2 separate regions of the Homo sapiens genome follow, and region 1 is linked to region 2. The links are contacts of gene promoters, found by promoter capture Hi-C in human tissues and cell types (Jung and others, 2019). All regions are on one chromosome and are shown on one strand. Each heading gives the region's core, a stretch centred on a gene start or on the middle of the fragment in contact. The rest is flanking DNA. Distances are from core to core; before and after follow the strand shown. Region 1 holds the start of AGFG2 (ArfGAP with FG repeats 2). Region 2 overlaps SLC12A9-AS1 (SLC12A9 antisense RNA 1).

Region 1 (5,626 bases), core at 194-2,693, 300 kb after region 2:
TTATTAAAAAACAGAGATCCAGGCCTGATATCAGATGTTAATCATGCATCTAACCAAATAATATCTTAATTTGGGAGTAGGAGGAGTGCAGAGGGGAGTGGAGGGGGCTTTACTATATAACCAGAAATCTAGGCTAGAATTGTGGCTGTAAATTCACTCTGGCATGACCGAACAGTACCAATGCCAAGAGTAGCACTCAGATGATGCACCAAAGCCCCCCCAAAATCTAGAGTTTCCTGGATGCTACCACCAGGATCCAGTCATGGCAACAGGGATCTTAAAGGTGTAAATGATTAACCTTCAGGATGGCTCACCTAGACGTGCAAACGTTTGAAAAAGCTAAGCTCTCTACCAGGGTAACCCATTGGCTCTCATCTCTTAGATTTCGTAAGAGTTTTACCTTCTGGGTAACATTTCAAAGCCCTGCTAAGATTAGTATCTACACCTGAACTCTGGACCATGGCTCCCTTCCAGCCACTATCTCTAGGCTGTCAATCGGGGTTAATTCGCTTTTTTTTTTTTTTTTAATCCTGTACTCTAATCATAGGAATTTCAACCAAGTTTCAGCTGGCTTCTGCATCTCACACTCCAGCAGGGACACAAGCCCGAAGGAAGAAAGGTGCCCGTCCATCTCCAGGCCGGCTTTCCCCACCTTTTTCCTTTTTGCTTTCCACCTGCATGAAGTTCCCTCTAAAGGTGCATGTCATTTTCTGGCCCTTTAAGTCCCGACACCCCATCCCACTCCGAGTTCCCTTCCATCCTCCGCACTTTCTCCCTCCCCACTTGCAGTTTGCCTCGACCCCCTCGGGGAGTTTCTCGGTCCCTCTCCGGGCGTCTTTCTGCACCCGTACCCTTCTCTCCGCAGAGCGACTCCGGCCTTGCTTCCTCTCCCCTGCCCTTTCCCCTCCCCACCACACCGCTGCAGCAGACGACCCCGTCCCCACAGCCGGCGCGTTCCCTGACCTCCCCTCCGCCCCTCACCTCGGCCCCCTTCCCTCGCGCCCCGGAGCCCCGGCCTCCCCACCCCGCCCCCGGGTCCCCCCACGCCGACCTCGGCCACTCCCTCCCGGTCACTCACAGGAGGCCGGAGCAGGTGGTGCACACGAAGCTGCCCACGGTGATATCCACGTAGGTGACCCCGCGCTGGGCGCACTCGAAGCAGTGGCGGTTCCCGGCCTGGCTGCAGCCACCCAGCTCCCGCACCCGACGGCACCACACCTCCGAGGCCGCCTCCGCCTCCGCCTTGCCCCCGCTGACCCCGCCGCCCGGGCCCGGGCCCTTCTTCGCCGCCATCACCATCGCTGCCCACTCCCTCCCCGCTAGTCAGCAATCACCCCTTCAACCACTGCCGCCTTCCCGCCTCCTCAGCCGCCTCCGCACGCCCGGCTCCCCTGACAGAAGCTCGGGAGCGGGCGGCATCCGCAGGAGACTTCGCCGTCCACCACCCTCCTTGCCCGTCCTGCACACTGATTGGCTAGGTTTCTCCCACCTCCTTACTCCGATTGGCCCTCCCTGGGACGGCCTCCGGTTGCTGGAGCCGCCAATGCCCCGCCCCACCGCCTTCAGGCCTCAGGCCTCTCCTATTGGCCGGCAGAGACCCCAGCAGCGAGAACCGTGCGTGCCCTCTCCTTGTCCCCGCCCCCTCTCGCCGCTGCCTCCACCGTGGCCCGCCTCCTAGTTCCGATTGGTGAGTCCTCGGCACTCGGGCTCCGACGCTAATTTTGATTGGCTGGCGGGGCTGCAAAGTTAGCGCGCGAGACAGAGGAGGTGCCCCGCGCGTGCGTAGCTGTCGTCCTCCCGACTGATGACGTTAATTCCCGGCAAATTTCAAAGGCTTACTCTAGACTGTGTAGAGTGTCATGCAAAGCCGAAGAGAAGTGGCCATGTGAGGGGCTGAGCAGGAGGGGGAAAGAAGAGAGCGCTTAAGGGAGAGAGGGAGAGGGAGCAAGAGTGCTTTACTAGACCAGTGCTCTAATTCCTGAGCCACAGAGCGAAGGGAGTGCTTTATAAATGTCATTTCATTCGCTCCGCCTATCCCAGAGGTGGAATCCCCATTTTACACCCTTAGGTTCAACAACTTGCGGCAGATCACACGAGTGCGTGGCCCAGGATTCCACTCTGGGTCTTCCAACTTTAGAAACCCTGCCTTTAACCCTCCTAGTAGGTGGACTATTATTCGATTATTCATTTAACAAACACTGAGTGTCTGCTAGGTTTCAGGCACGTTCTAGACACTGGGAATAGAATACAGCAGCGAAGCAATCAAACAAAATATTCTTATAGAGCTTAGTTTCTAGTAGGGGGAAGCAAACAATACACAAATTAAAGAATCACCAGTTAGTAATAAATCCTACGCAGAGAATTAAAATCACATCTTGGAAAAGACTTTTTGGGTACTTTTTTAATTTTTTAATTTAATTTTAATTTTTTGAGATGGAGTCTCACTCTGTTGCCCAGACTGGAGTGCAGTGGCACGATGTCAGCTCACTGCAACCTCTGCCTCCTGGGTTTAAGCAATTCTCATGCCTCAGTCTCCTGAGTAGCTGGGATTACAGGCGGCCACCACCACCCCCAGATAATTTTTGTATTTTTATTATTATGATTATTATTATTTGAGATGGAGTCTCGCTCTGTCGCCCAGGCTGGAGTGCAGTGGCACGATCTCGGCTCACTGCAAGCTTCGCCTTCTGGGTTCACGCCATTCTCCTGCCTCAGCCTCCCGAGTAGCTGGGACTACAGGCACCCGCCACCACGCCTGGCTAATTTTTTTGTATTTTCAGTGGAGACGGGGTTTCACCGTGTTAGCAAGGATGGTCTCGATCTTCTGACCTCGTGATCCGCCGGTCTTGGCCTCCCAAAGTGCTGGGATTACAGGCGTGAGCCACCGCGCCCGGCCAATTTTTGTATTTTTAGTAGAGACAGGATTTCACCATGTTGGCCAGGCTGGTCTCAAACTCATGGCCTCAAGTGAGCCTCCCGCCTTGGCGTCCCAAAGTGCTGGGATTACAAGCATGAGCCACAATGCCTGGCCACCTGTTGGGTACTTCAGATTGGGTTGGTCACCATTTTTAAAACAATTACTTTTTTTTTGAGACAGGGTCTCGCTTTATCACCCAGGCTGGAGTGCAGTGACACAATCATGGCTCACTGCAGCCTCAACCTTCTGGACTCAAGTGATCCTTCCACCTCAGCCTTCCAAGTAGCTGGGAGTACAGCTGTGCACCACCATGCCTGGCGAATTTTTAAAAATTTTTTGTAGAGATTGGGTCTCACTATATTGCCCAGGCTGGTCTGGACCTCCTGGGCTCAAGTGATCCGCCCACCTCAGCCTCCATCTCCCAGGTTCAAGCGATTCTCCTGCCTCAGCCTCCCAAGTAGTTGGGATTACAGGTGCGTGCCACCATGTCCAGCTAATTTTTGTATTTTTAGTAGAGATGGGGTTTCACCATATTGGCCAGGCTGGTCTTGAAGTCCTGACTTCAAATGATCCACCCACCTTGGCCTCCCAAAGTGCTAGGATTACAGACGTGAGTCACCGCACCCGGCCTCTTTTTGTTTTGTTTTGTTTTTTTTGTTTTTTTTTTTTTTTTTGAGACAAGGTCTTGCTCTGCTGCCCAGGTTGGAGGGCAGTGGCACAATCATACCTCACTGCAGCCTCAACCTCCCCAGTTCAAGTGATCCTCCCACCTCAGTCTCCAGGGTAGCTGAGACTACAGGCGCACACCACCATGCCTGGCTAATTTTTGATTTTTTGTAGAGAAGGGGTCTCACTATGTTGTCCAGGCTGGTGGCTGGCAGCCTGCTTTCTCTCTCTCTCTCTTGTTTTTTTCTTTTTGAGACAGGGTCTTACTCTGTCACCCAGGCTGGAGTGCAGTGGCACAATCTTGGCTCACTGCAACCTCCACTTCCTGGGGCTTGAGTGCTCCTCCCACCTCAGCCTCCCGAGTAGCTGGGACTACAGGTGCATGCCACCATGCCCAGCTAATTTTTTGTATTTTTAGCATGTTGGCCAGGCTGGTCTCGAACACCTGAGTTCAGGTCATCTGCCCGCTTTGGCCTCTCAAAGTGCTGGGATTATAGGTGTGAGCCACCGCACCCGGCCCCATTTTTCAATTAATGGCACCATGAGCCACCTAGTTGCCCAAAGCAAAAATCTAGAGCTACTCTCTTCAATACGGCAGCCACTAATCATATGTGGCTATTTAAGTTTAAATTAAATTAAAATGGGCTGGGCGTGGTGGCTTATGCCTGTAATCCCAGCATTTTGGGAGGCCGAGGCAGGCGGATCACGAGGTCAGGAGTTCGAGAAAAGCCTGGCCAACATAGTGAAACCCTTTAATCTACTAAAAATACAAAAATTAGCCAGGCATGGTGGCAGGCACCTGTAATCCCAGCTACTTGGAAGGCTGAGTCAGGAGAATTGCTTGAACGTGGGAGGTGGAGGTTGCAGTGAGCTGAGATCGCGCCATTGCACTCCACCCTGGGTGACAGAGCGAGACTGTCTCAAAAAAAAAAAAAGAAAGAAAGAAAGAAGAAGGAAAGAAAAAGAAAAGGAAAGGAAAAGGGGAGACTAAAGGAGGAGTAGGTTAGGGCAGGGCCTAACCTACTGGGCCATGGACCAGTACCTGTCTGTGGCCTGTTAGGAACCAGGCCACGCAGCAGGAAGTAAGTGGTGGGCAAATGAGCAAAGCTGCATCTGTATTTACAGCCACTACCCATTGCTCCCATTACCGCCTGAGCTCTGCCTCCTCTCAGATCCGCAACAGCATTAGATTCTCATAGGAGCACGAACCCTATTGTAAACTGCGCATGCAAGGGATCTAGGTCATGCACTCCTTATAAGAATCTAATGCTTGATGACCTGTCACTGTCTCCCATCACCCCCAGATGGGACCGTCTAGTTGCGAGAAAACAAGCTCAGGGCTCCCACTAATTCCACATGATGGTGAGTTGTATAATTATTTTGTTATACATTACAATGTAATAATAATAGAAATAAAGTGCACAGGCCAGGCGCGGTGGCTCACGCCTCTAATCCCAGCACTTTGGGAGCTGAGGTAGGCAGATCACGAGGTCAGGAAATCGAGACCATCCTGGCCAACATGGTGAAACCTCGTCTCTACTAAAAATACAAAACTTAGCTGGCCATGGTGGCACGTGCCTGTAATCCCAGCTACTTGGGAGGCTGAGGCAGGAGAATCGCTTGAACCCAGGAGGTGGAGGTTGCAGTGAGCCAAGATCGTGCCACTGCACTCCAGCCTGGTGACAGAGCGAGACTCCGTTTAAAAAAAAAAAAGTGCACAATAAACTTAATGTGCTCAGATCATCCCAAAATCATCCCCCAACTCCCACCCGCCGGTTAGTGGAAAAATTATCTTCCTGGTCCGTGGTGCCAAAACGGTTGGGGACTGCTGGGTTAGGGGGTGCTGATAGGCAGAAATCAGTAGCTTGGTTTTGGACATGTTGATTTGAGATCCTTGTGAGGCATCCAGTGGGCTGATAAGCAGGCAGGTGGATATGTATAGACTGGATTTCCAGGCCAGGCCAGAGCTGGAAATGTAGGTTTAGGAGTCATCGCTTAGAGCCATGGGACTGGTTGCTTAGGTACAGCATGTAGAGAGAGACT
Region 2 (5,255 bases), core at 1,067-3,566:
TCACTTTGCAGGGGCTGGCGAAGCTGCTTCCGTCCACATACTGCTCACAGTCTACTGATGTTTAAGGATGGTTTCGGAGGTTGGGCCTGCTAGGATAAACTGAGTCTAACACCCCTATACAGTTATGTTCAACTGGGCTTTCTGATACTGGCAGCAAGGTGGTGGGGTTTAGGGTGTTGCAAACTTCAATGGTTATGTGGGGATTTTCACATAGCAAGCTTTGGTACTTGGTTAATCTAGCATTTGTAACCAATGAGGTCCTTTGGTAGTCATTCAAGTTACCACAGCATGGGGGGACTTTATATTCAGGTTTTGCCTAAGGGTTAGTTTATCTGCTTCTTGTGCTAACAGGGCCATTGCTGCTAGGGCCCTTAAACCTGGGGGCCAGCCTTTGGAAACCTTGTCTAGTTGTTTTGAGAGATAGGCCACTGGCCTTGCCCAGGGCCCTACAGTCTGGGTTAAAACTCTAACTGCCTTTTTTTCTCTTTCTGACACGTAGGGTGTAAAGGGTTCAGGTAGCCTCAGGGCTGGGGCCGACATGAGTTTTTCTTTTAACTCATGAAAAGCTCATTGCTGTTGGTTGTAATAGATGTAGTTTATCTAATCTACATTTTTATTAACTGTCACTCACCAAAATATTGACTCAAATCCTGCAGCTATTTGATTTCAAGCTTTAAATTGATCTGGTATTCCTCATGGGACTCCAATTGCGTCTAAATAGACATGAGAGTCAAAAGACCCATAAGGGGCTTCTCTCGCTTTACAATGTCTTATTTTTTCTCCCTCTGGTTGATGAAATGCCAGGGTGAAAGGGATAGCCAATTGGACTAAAGTACAAGTGCCACTCCAGTTATTCGGCAGAGTGCCTAGTAAAGGTCCACCAAAATACCACCACACATCCGCTCAGGGATGAACAAGGGCTGACTGATTAATAAGCTCTTGAAAATTCTTAAGCTCATCGCATCCCTTCAGGTCTCCAAGGAATGCTAAGTTTCCTCCCTGTAGTGAGAGATACGAAGTGAACTTAGTGTTGGGAGACGGAAGCTGGATGGCCCTCAGGGGCTGACCCGCAGGGTGCCAGACTTAGGGATACAGCAGAGAGAGCTTGGCATGACTTATTACTCCAGGCTGTAGAATCCTGGAAAAGAGCTACCATGCAACCTACACCTGGTCGACTGGAGGACCACCTTAGTGGAAGGGGGACAGTCTGGGCCTCTGGCCTGCCATGTGCACAAGCATAACAATTGCTTTTGTTTAATGTGCAGATGGAATATTTGATCCATTTTAACTAGGCATTTGCATGTTGGTATCCTGTCTTAATTGCTAAAATTTGTTTTAAGTCTTTAACTTCTATGATCCTCTAGTAAAATTAATGTATGATTTTAGGAAATTATAAAAACCGGTTGGGGCAGTCCATCTTTGCTCTTTAATGGTCCACAGAACATTGGACCAACTATGGCATGAAAGCTCTACGTCGGGGGCAAGACTCTTCGTTGGCACTGGGGTCTTTATCGAAATCTCCCTGGATTAAATGGTCCTAGTTTACTAATGCCCAGTCTGAGGAGAGTCAGGAGAGACAGAAGTGCTTTTCTGAAGTAGAGAGCTGTCTTTGACTTGGCAAGTCCTCACAGGGTATAACAAAGCAATCATTAAATGCAATAGTTTGAGGAGAAATTGACTTGGTTATGTTAATAACTAGATGGTCAGCAATAGAATGAGGAAAGAAGAAAGAGTAATAGAATAGATGAAAAGAGTTAAGTTTTTCTTAGCTTTAGTTTGATAGGGTTTTCCTTTGGGACTATGGCCTACAACTCTGGAGGGGGTGGCACTTTCTTGACTCGGATGTGATGAGTCCATTCTTTTTTTTTTTTTCTGTACGAACAGCAGTCTTGGTGGTTAGCAGCACAAGGCAGGGTCCTTCCCAGGCTGGCTTGAGTTTTTCTTCCACAGTTTGATGAGAATATGATCTTCAGGCTGGTGCTGGTTTACCGGAAATTCTAGGGGTGGTACATGTGCTAAAAGACTTTTAGTTTTTGAGAGAAAGGAAAGTGGAAGGTAAACCAAGTATATGATTTTTAAGAAAATGTCTTTTTGTTTTAAATGTGGGGACCTTGGCCGTGGACTTTATAGTCCTTAGTGCCTTTTTACTGAGAAATTTCCTTTAGCACCTATTTTTATTAGTTTTTAAACTAAAGAAAGCCAAATTTTTTTTACATTTAACAATGCTTCTCGTATGATTTTCATACCAGATAAGCTAAATTTTATCTTTATATTCGTGTGTTATGAATGTTAAACCTAATTTTAATAAAACTTTATAGACATATTTATCTAATTTTTAATGTTTGACCATAAGGTAAGATTTTATAGACTCTTTTTAACTTTTTATAATTTTTGCTAAAGAGCAGGTTGGTGCTTTAAGAAAAACCTGTTATGCTTTTACTTTAATGTCCAGTTCACAGAAAAACTGGATGATACTTCTTTAACTTTAGCTAATATGTTTACATACAGAATTTTCTTTACAATTAACATTTTAAAACTTGCTTAAACTTTTAAAACAATAATTTGTTTTAACTTTTTAACATAGGTAAAAATGTACATTCTTATGCCTCCTTACCAAAGGTATATTTTACTTTTCTTATACACCTTGCACATAAACTGGTTTGTTTTTTTTTTTAAATAGTTTTACATTCAGGAGGCCTAGTTACTTTTAAATTATACTACATTTTTGCATAAATTCTTTTTTATAACTTTTTTTCTTTCATGGTTTTCGCAGACAATTCTTCGATATTCTTCAACTTTTTGACTTATTACAAATATTTCTTTCTTTAAACCAGTTAATTTATTTCAGGACAACAATTTACTATATAATACTCTTTTTATATAAATTCCACCCCCTAAGGAAAAAAAATTCTTTTTTCCTTAGGATACTTCTGAACTGGTGAGGTGTGCTCACAATGAGGTTTCCTCTAAAAGTTTTTTTTTTTTACTTTTTTTTTGTTGTTAGCAAAGCAGTTGCCGCTACAGACTGAATGCATTTGGGCCATCCGCGGGTCACTGGGTTAAGGATTTTTGATAGGAAGGCCTCAGTGCTTTCGGATACGGCTTTGTTTACACTGACAACAAAGTGGTATTGGAGTGTTACAGGGTTACGGAGAATACCTTCAATTATCAATTATAGGTTTTAAATTTACCTTGGCTTTTAAAGGAATAGGGTACACCTTTTTTTTTTCTTAACTGCTTGTATATCTCTCTTTCTTTCTTTCTTTGACTTTGTCTCTCTTTGACTTTCTTTTTGCCTCTGTCTCTTCTCTCTCTCTGCATTTCTTTCTCTCTGTCTTTCTCTCTCTCCTTGACTCCCTCTCTGTCTGTCTTTTCCTCTCTGTCTCTTCCTCTCTGTCTCTTTCCTTTCTCTCTTTCTGCTGGTCTTTCTTTGCCTCTGCCAGCCACTTATGCTGCTGTTCTCAACCGCTGTGTGTTGGGGGCGGGGGGTCTAAAACTAGCTGTAACCAAGTGTCTATGTACGGGAACTGGTCTGGGTTCCCTGGCTTACAGGTTACTTTGTGCCATACCTTTGAAACAAGGGACCTGTCCAGGCTTTTTTCTAATGGCCAACCTACCTCTAATGCTGGCCAGTCTATCTTACACAAAGTTTTAAGTTTTCCTCGTGTCATAGTACTCTATAGTCTCCTTTAAATTCTTTTTTGAAATTTTTCAACATAGTTCCTAGCAGGGTGGGCTTATTTGTGCCTGACCTATGCTTCTTCGACACAAAACACCACACTCACACCACACGCACACCACAAAACAAAGAACAGGTAAAAAGGGCACACACACACTTTCGCAGTTTGCACCAAACTAAAATCAAAACTAAAATCAGAGTATCTAGAAATCTAAGTTAGGTCAAAACCAAAACCAGAGTATTAAGCAATCTAAGTCAAGTCAAAAACAAAAACTAAAGTGCCGGTACAGGCACACCATGGGTGATCAGGCCACGCTTCCACTTAAATGCAGTGGGCAAGTTTCTTTTTTTTTTTTTTTTGAGACGGAGTCTCGCTCTGGTGGGGACTACAGGCACCCACCACCACGCCCAGCTAATTTTTTTGTATTTTTAGTAGAGAAGGGGTTTCACCGTGTTAGCCAGGATGGTCTCGATCTCCTGACCTCGTCATCCGCCCGCCTTGGCCTCCCAAAGTGCTGGGATTACAGGCCTGAGGCACCACACCTGGCCTGGAGTGGGCAAGTTTCAAAGACTAGTCTTACCAAGTTTTAGATGTCCAGACTCTAAGTGCCCGTTCCTTCCTGGTGTTCAGCCACTGTGTTGATCCTCCACAGGGGCCTGCCACACACTGCTCTGGCGAAGCGTCCTCCTGGGGCAAATGCCTACCAGGGAGCACTCTCAGGATCCGCGTCGCCCGGGCTAGTTAGAGTCGCCCGCAGGGATGTTCCACACGGCAGGCTTAAGCCGCCTAAGGAGCTGCCTCGACCATCCGCCATTCACCTCGCTTCCCCATCAGGGAACCAAGAAATGTAGCAGGACGAGGCGCAGAAAACTCCTCAGACACTGAGTTAAAGAAGGAAGGGGTTTATTCGGCCAGGGGCATCAGCAAGACTCCTGTCTCAAGAGCCGAGCTCCCTGAGTGAGCAATTCCTGTCTTTTTTTTTTTTGAGACGGAGTCTCACTCTGTCGCCCAGGCTGGAGTGCAGTGGCGTGATCTCGGCTCACTGCAGCTCTGCCTCCTGGGTTCACGCCATTCTCCTGCCTCAGCCTCCTGAGTAGCTGGGACTACAGGCGCCCGCCACCATGCCCAGCTAATTTTTTTGTATTTTTTAGTAGAGACAGGGTTTCACCGTGTTAGCCAGGATGGTCTCGATCTCCTGACCTCGTGATCCACCCGCCTCGGCCTCCCAAAGCGCTGGGATTACAGGTGTGAGCCACCGCGCCCGGCAATTCCTGTCTTTTTTTAAGGGCTCACAACTCTAAGGGGGTGCATGTGAGAGGGTCGTGATTGATTGAGCAAGCAGGGGTATGTGACTGGGGGCTGCATGCACCGGTAATTAGATCGGAACAAAACAGGATAAGCATTTTCACAGTGCCTTTCTATACAATGTCTGTAATTTACAGATAACATGGCTGATTAGGTCAGAGGTCGATCTTCAACTACTAGGCCTAAGTTATGGCACCGGGCTGTCTGCTTGTAGATTTTATTTCTGCCTTTTAGTTTTTACTTTTTCTTTCTTTAGAGGCAGAAATTAGG

The links. The method cuts DNA at HindIII sites, captures the fragments that hold promoters and counts their contacts. A contact is called where the count stands out against the background at its distance.
Region 1: the fragment with the promoter of AGFG2 here is called in contact with a fragment that was not itself captured in region 2 in 1 of the 25 tissues and cell types used here (spleen).

Annotation. Positions count from the first base shown.
Region 1 is chr7:100,535,020-100,540,645 of GRCh38, reverse strand. AGFG2 (ArfGAP with FG repeats 2) reads right to left here and starts at 1,443. Exons shown (of 12, transcript NM_006076.5): 1 at 1,079-1,443. The coding sequence starts at 1,299. RefSeq lists silencers at 1,083-1,382, 1,433-1,712 and an enhancer at 1,592-2,093. The HindIII fragment of the contact is 17,077 bases long and covers 1-5,626 here.
Region 2 is chr7:100,838,734-100,843,988 of GRCh38, reverse strand. The region is part of intron 1 of SLC12A9-AS1 (SLC12A9 antisense RNA 1); the gene reads left to right. It also overlaps a transcript of SLC12A9 not described here. Among named protein-coding and RNA genes, the nearest start is that of SLC12A9-AS1, 11 kb to the left of the region's middle. The HindIII fragment of the contact is 3,742 bases long and covers 446-4,187 here.